Regions from separate parts of the Homo sapiens genome. Here region 1 is linked to region 2. Evidence: promoter capture Hi-C in 16 types of primary human blood cells and fetal thymus (Javierre and others, 2016). All regions are on one chromosome and are shown on one strand. Each heading gives the region's core, a stretch centred on a gene start or on the middle of the fragment in contact. The rest is flanking DNA. Distances are from core to core; before and after follow the strand shown. Region 1 overlaps DDX42 (DEAD-box helicase 42). Region 2 holds the start of LIMD2 (LIM domain containing 2).

What was found. The method cuts DNA at HindIII sites, captures the fragments that hold promoters and counts their contacts. A CHiCAGO score of 5 or more calls a contact.
Region 1: a fragment that was not itself captured here is called in contact with the fragment with the promoter of LIMD2 in region 2 in 7 of 17 cell types (naive CD8 T cells, naive CD4 T cells, total B cells and 4 more); the score reaches 7.7 in naive CD8 T cells.

The regions. Positions count from the first base shown.
Region 1 is chr17:63,811,249-63,814,398 of GRCh38, reverse strand. DDX42 (DEAD-box helicase 42) reads right to left here. Exons shown (of 18, transcript NM_203499.3): 14 at 2,191-2,467; 15 at 945-1,171. Among named protein-coding and RNA genes, the nearest start is that of PSMC5, 15 kb to the left of the region's middle. The HindIII fragment of the contact is 4,274 bases long and covers 1-3,150 here.
Region 2 is chr17:63,698,746-63,702,115 of GRCh38, reverse strand. LIMD2 (LIM domain containing 2) reads left to right here and starts at 1,991. Exons shown (of 5, transcript NM_030576.4): 1 at 1,991-2,084; 2 at 2,768-2,859; 3 at 3,047-3,088; 4 at 3,178-3,317. The coding sequence starts at 2,818. It overlaps LOC729683 (a long non-coding RNA gene), which reads right to left and starts at 1,778. Exons shown (of 1, transcript NR_046273.1): 1 at 1-1,778. RefSeq lists silencers at 13-92, 1,283-2,242, 2,333-2,792, 2,883-3,112 and enhancers at 513-612, 408-992, 993-1,578. The HindIII fragment of the contact is 14,945 bases long and covers 630-3,370 here.

The DNA of each region.
Region 1 (3,150 bases), core at 1-2,500, 110 kb before region 2:
CTGCCACATTGCAGCTGGGTTGTACCAGTTGTGTGAGCTGGCCTAGGCATTTGACAAACTCTTAACAGTTTCTGCTCTCAGAAAGTGTTCCGAACCCATTTGTAATTTGGGGACAGCATGGATTCAGATGACTCCAGGTTTGATTTGTTAGAATGCCTCACTTAGCTTTAGATTGGAGCACACCTGGAAGAGGGCAATCAGTGTGGTCAGAGGTCTGAGATCTCTGCAAGGAACAGTTAAGAGGCACCATACAGGCTGGGCACGGTGGCTCACGCCTGTAATCCTAGCACTTTGGGAGGTTGAGGCCGAGGCGGGCGGATCACCTGAGGTCAGGAGTTCGAGACCAGCCCGACCAACATGGCAAAACCCCATCTCTACTAAAATTACAAAAATTGGCCAGGCGTGGTGGTGGGCGCCTGTAATCACAACTGCTTGGGAGGCTAAGGCAGGAGAATTGCTTGAACCCAGGAGGCAGAGGTTGCAGTGAGCCGAGATCGTGCCATTGCACTGCAGCCTGGGCGATAGAGTGAGATTCTGTCTCAAAAAAAAAAGGTGGGGGGGCACTATACTATACACATATTGTTTTAAAGGCATCACACATTTTTAGCCTCCCAGAAGAAAAATTTTGTGGGGGAAGAGCAGTAAGGAGAATAGTAACCATCTTTGAGATTAAATTTACTCCTAAGTGTGCTATGGGGTAGAAATTACAGCGACAGATTTTAGCACAAAGGAATAGCTTTTCAAAACAGATGCTGTTGAAAGAAGAAGACCAGATAAGACTAGATGAATTTTAGTATCTCACAATTCCTATCTGTACCTCATAAGCCCCACATCCTCCTAGCCACCCAACTTTCTTGTCAAGTTTTTATGTTATCTGTTCCAGGACTGCTAAAATGTCTTGGTCTTATAACCAGGAGCAATTGAAAGTGTGCCCAGCCCCTCACCTGCATTGCCAGATCTAGGAGTTCCTTAGAAACGTGTTGATTGGCTCCTTCCAAGTTCCGGACCAGGTCACCAGCAAAATTGCTGTCCTTGGGAGTGAGTAGGGTATAGGCCACACCTTTCTCACCCGCTCTTCCTGTGCGGCCAATCCTATGCGTGTGGGTATCAATGTCTCGTGCCACATCATAGTTAATGACAGTCTTAATTGAAGGAATGTCCAGACCACGGGCTGAAATAAAAAGCAACCAAATTCTTTTATTCTTCATCTGTAGTCAGAAGATCAAAGTAACCAGAAATGCTAGTGCTAATAAGCCACATTTCCTTTATCTAGGCAAAGCGCATGGGTTTGGTGAGCTGAGATACAGGCATGTTAAGTCACCACCACAGATTCTATGATGTTAGGCCTTCTAGTGTAAGGGACTTTTATTTTTTAGAGACGGAGTCTTGCTCTGTTGCCAGACGGGAGTGCAGTGCCATGATCTCGGCTCACTGCAACCTCCGACTCCCTGGTTCAAGCAATTCTCCTGCCTCAGCTTTCCAAGTAGCTGGGATTATAGGCACGCGCCACCACACCCAGCTAATTTTTGTATTTTTAGTAGAGACGGGGTTTCACTATGTTGGCCAGGATGGTCTCGATCTCCTGACCTCAGGTGATCCGCCCGCCTCCACCTCCCAAAATGCTGGGATTACAGGTGTGAGCCACCGTGCCCGACTGGGACTTTTATCTTTTGCATCAGTAATCTGCCATGCCCTCTTCTCTTGCACTGGGAATATATATTTAAAATGTGTCATGAAGCTGAGAAGTTCTCTCCTTTCTAGGAAAAAATATCAGTGTTTAAGGGTAGTTATTAAAACTTGACAGAACAAATCCAGAAATTATATTCCAAAAACTGTTCTCATCCTGAGTTAAGTTGCCCAACTAAGCTGTGTATAGTAGATCAATGTAAGGGTAAGGTATCTACTATATTCAGACATACAATAAGGGCATTCACTGCCTTTTTTCCCAGAGTGACTTCTAGCTGCAGGGATTCTTTGATTAGAGAGAAATACTAAGTGAAAAGTGGTATCTAGAGCTCCAGACTGTGATCCCTGTGCTGAACTGCTGCTTCCTTGGGGGTTTGGGAGGGGATGGCCAGCCAGGCCAACAGTCTTTCCATCAGCCTGCTCAGATATTATAGGTCTTATGTAGTAAGACAGAGTACCCTTATAGCCTAGGAACTTAATGTTGTTGAAAAATTCATACTCTACCTGCAACATCTGTGGCCACCAGGACTGGGATGTCCTTTTTCTTAAAGTCTGAAATGACCTTGTTTCTCTCACTCTGATCCATATCCCCATGGAGCAGCCCAAGATTATGACCCTCCTGTTTAAGGTTATTCGCTAGCTCTTCAGCATTGGCTTTTTTAGTAACAAAGAGGAGGACACTCCCTGAAGAGGTAAATTCTACCAGACGCCGGGTAAGCCAGTTCCATTTACTAGGTCCAGAATGGAGAATCTCCACAATCTGTGTCACATCTTCATTTGCCTGAGAAGGAAGAAATGAAACAGATGATTGTGACATTGGAGCCACAGGGCACCTGAACAAGGACTAGGCATTATATTTCTACCTGCATCGAGAAGACCTTGAACAATCCCAGTTCTCCTTGGGCCTTCAGCAAGTCAAGTGCAGCTCAAAACTCACCTCTCCTTTCCAATCACCTTGCTCTCCACCTGGTGTACATACCTAATTTGTATGCCCCACTACTTTGTAGAGCTTTCCTTAACAATAACCATGGCAAGCAACTGAAGGATTCTCTAAGCAGCCATAACTGAATTCCAAGTCCCAATTCAGAGTAATTTTTCACATAGCGCATATGTACAGGTAAGAAATGAAACCTGATTTTTTCCAGGCCTTCCAGGTCACCCTTTCCCTCCTGCGTAGGCCCCTACCACAATAATTAAAACGTCAGTTCCAACCTAATACGCTGATGCTTCCAGGCACATCTTTTTGTCTCTTTGAAGCCTTTTTAAAACAATTGTAAGTTTTGAGACATTCAATAAAACAAAAAAAACACAAAATGAACAAAATCAACTCATACCCATCACCTAGCTTCAATGATTCCCAACATTTTGCCAGTCTTGTTACGTCTATCCCCACAACTTGCAAAATACCCAATCTCAAGCATGTTGCATCTATAAACATAACATCTTTTTTTTTTATCTCAATAG
Region 2 (3,370 bases), core at 742-3,241:
GGCGAGTGAGTGTCGGGGGCGGCGGGGAGCATTTCCGGCCCTCCTCCCCCTGCTTTAAACCTCAAGTTCCCTTCGCCTCGCCCCGCCCTCCCCCCCCCACACACACACAAACACAGAGTCTGTCGCCCAGGCTGGCGTGCACTGGCTTCATGTTGACTCACTGTAGGCTCCACCTCCCGGGTTCAAGCGATTCTTCTGCCTCAGCCTCCCGAGTAGCTAGGATTACAGGCACACACCACCACGCCTGGATAATTTTTGTATTTTTAGTAGAGACGGGATTTCACCATGTTGGCCAGGCTGGTCTTGGACTTCTGACCTCGTGATCCACCTGTCTCTGCCTCCCAAAGTGCTGGGACTACAGGCGTGAGCCACCGCCGAGCCAAGTTCCCTTTTTTTGTTTGTTTTTGACGCTGGTCATCAGTTTCCTTTGCTTCTGGATGCCTTCTGCACCTTGCTGTTGGGGCATCCTCAATGCCCATCTGCAGCTCAGCCCACAGGCCCGTCCTGGGCAGGGTGCCGGGGCCTCACCATGCCCAATGGCAGCAAGCCCTGCTCCTAGTACCCCCGGGGCTTCCCGTTTCTTGCATCAAACAGCCCCTTTGGAGAATCTGATGACAGGTGTGGAAGCTTTCCCGAGAGGCAGCCACTTTAGAGGGTCTGACGCTCCCCACTAGAGAGTCGGCCCACAGTGCAGACAAAACGCAGATCTTCCTCTAGAGAGAACAGAAGGCTGGAGAGGAGACGCGGAGCCGGTCCGTGGAGTCCGCCAGCCTGGGAAACAGCTGGTCGCTGGGGAAGCTGCAGCCTCCCTGCTCCCCTGCCAGGCGTCGGGCGAGAGCTGTTCTGTTCCCTGACAAGCGCGTGGGCCGCCAGTGCTATTCCTGCCACAGTGTGGGAAGGCGCTGGGCTAAGGGCTGTGCTTCCCGGAGCTGCTTCTAGCCTGATTTCCGGCCAAGCCACGCAGTCCCTGGTGCCCGGGAAGGCGCCGGCCTCGCCGCCGCTCCAAAGCGAGTGGCCGTCTCTCGCCGGCTGTGCCTCCGGCCTGCTGTGCGGCTGCAGGGAGGGAGCAGCTCTGCGGCCCAAGCTCTGTCACCTCAGCTCTCTGGGCCGCGGCTCCCACGTGAGAAATGAGGTGCGCTTGTTGGAGAGGGGGCCCCCGTTGCTGCCCACAGAATTCCGCCCCAGAAACGCTTGAGTACGTGGAGCCTCGGGGGACGGGTGCTCCGGGAACCACGCATACCGGCCTCCCCAGCCCGTCGCAGGGTTGCAGAGGCGCCGAGGGCTGGGGGGGCTGCCGGGGCTGCCGGGCCCTCGTGCAGGCTCCTCCCCGCAGCCTCGCGGCCGGGCCTGGAGACCGCGTGCCCGGACGCCGCCGCCAGCCTCGTGGGCCGCAAAGGGGCGGGGGCGGCCCCTGGCGGCGGGAGGACTCGGCCGCCCGAGGGACCCCGGGCCAGGCTCCGGGGTCGCCCCGGCTGGGTCTCTGCGGCCCCACAGCTCTGGGCGGGGATGGGGGCGCCGGCGCCTACGCGCGAGGCCAACCGGGGGAAACCGAGGCAGTGAATGGCCCAGGCCCCGCCCGGTTATCCCGGAGCCAGGCCGGGAGCGCCCAGTGTCCCGCGACCGCAGCCGCCGCAGCCTGAACTCGTCCCCTCCCAGTAGGATGCGGAGCGCGGCCCTTCCATCCTGTCCCTGCCACCGTTGCTTCCCCACGCCGGGCCGCCGTCGGGATGGGCAGACGGCGCGGCCGGTACCCGAGGCCTGCGAGCGCGAGGCCCGCGGGGCGCTGCGGAGCCGGGAGCGCGGAGCCGGGGCGGGGGACAGACAAAGGCGGGGACGGCGGCGAGGGGAAGACAAAGCGCGGAGGGGGGTCGGCGGCGGCGCCGGGGCCCCGAAGGCGGCTCCGGGCGCGGCGGAGCCAATGGGCGGGCGCGGGGCGGGGGCCGGCGGGGGCGGTGCAGCGATAAGGCGGTGGCGGCGGCGGTGGCTCGGGGACCACTGGTAGCGGCAGCAGCTCGCGCCCGCGCCCTCCTCGTACCCGTGCGCCCCCGGAGACCGATCCCGCCCCGCGGCCCAGGCCGGGCCTGGTGAGAGCCGCGGGGGGAGGGGCCGCGTCCGGCTCCGGAACCGGGAGAGGCGCCGAGGGGTGTGGGGTGAGGGCCGCCCGTGGGGTCCCGGCGAGTCTGCGAGCCGCTCTCGCCCGGGGCGCACAGGCTCGAGTCCTCGTTTCAGGGCCGGCCCCCGGCTGGGCGGAGCCGAGACCCGCTGGCGGGGCTCGCGGCGTCGGGGTCTGGGGTCCGGTCCTCGCGGGGCCAGGTCGGGGGCCGAGGGGCGGGGCGGGCGGGGACCTCGGGCGCTGTCCAGGGGCTGCGCAGCCTAGGCCTGGACGCCCGGGCGCGGCGCAGGGCAGCGAGGGCCGGGGTCAGGTCGGGGCAGCGGCTTCTCATCGCGGCCCCGCCGGCCCCGACCTCCCCTCACCCCAAGCGGTCCCAGCCCGCGGGACGCACACGGCGGCTGCGCGGGAGCCCCCGGCCCCTCCGCTCCCGCTAACTTTGTTCTTCCGAGGGACGGTGCCACTCGGGACCCCGGCCCCTGGGGAGCAGGGGTGGGGGAGGTGGGTGAGGGGCGGAAGTGGCAAGACCAAGAGCAACAGGAAATGACTTAGGGAAAGTCCCAACCGCAATCCCCCCAGCCCCTGCCTGTCAACACCCCCCACCCTGCAGGCTGGGGCCGGGCTGGCGGGGCCCTCCCGACTGACTTCCCCTTGCAGAACCCAGCGGGTGCCGCTTCTCCACCCGAGGCTTCCACCTCCAACGAGCCATGTTCCAGGCTGCAGGAGCCGCCCAGGCCACCCCCTCTCATGTAAGTGCCCGGCTGGGTGGGAGGGCCCCCCGGACAGGAGCCTGGCCTGGGGTGAAGGGGAGAGGCATCAGAGTTTGCCGGCCCCCTTTGTGCCCTGCGGCGCGCCCCTGGGCCTTGGGCTGATGGCTGCAGCCCTGATCCAGGGCCTCCCGGAGCTGCCCCTGCCCTGACCGCCCCTCTCCCTCAGGACGCCAAAGGCGGCGGCAGCAGCACGGTGCAGCGCTCCAAGGTAGGGGCCTGGGGCCGGGTGTGCGGGAGGAGGGGTGTGAGGGAGCGGGATGAGCACTGGGGCAGCACCTGGCTGAGCTTCCCGCACAGTCCTTCAGCCTGCGGGCCCAGGTGAAGGAGACCTGCGCCGCCTGCCAGAAGACCGTGTACCCCATGGAGCGGCTGGTGGCCGACAAGCTCATTTTCCACAACTCTTGCTTCTGCTGCAAGCACTGTCACACCAAGCTCAGGTGCGCCCCTGCCCTGCCCGCCCCCGCCTCGCCTGCCAACCCAGCCCCGACCT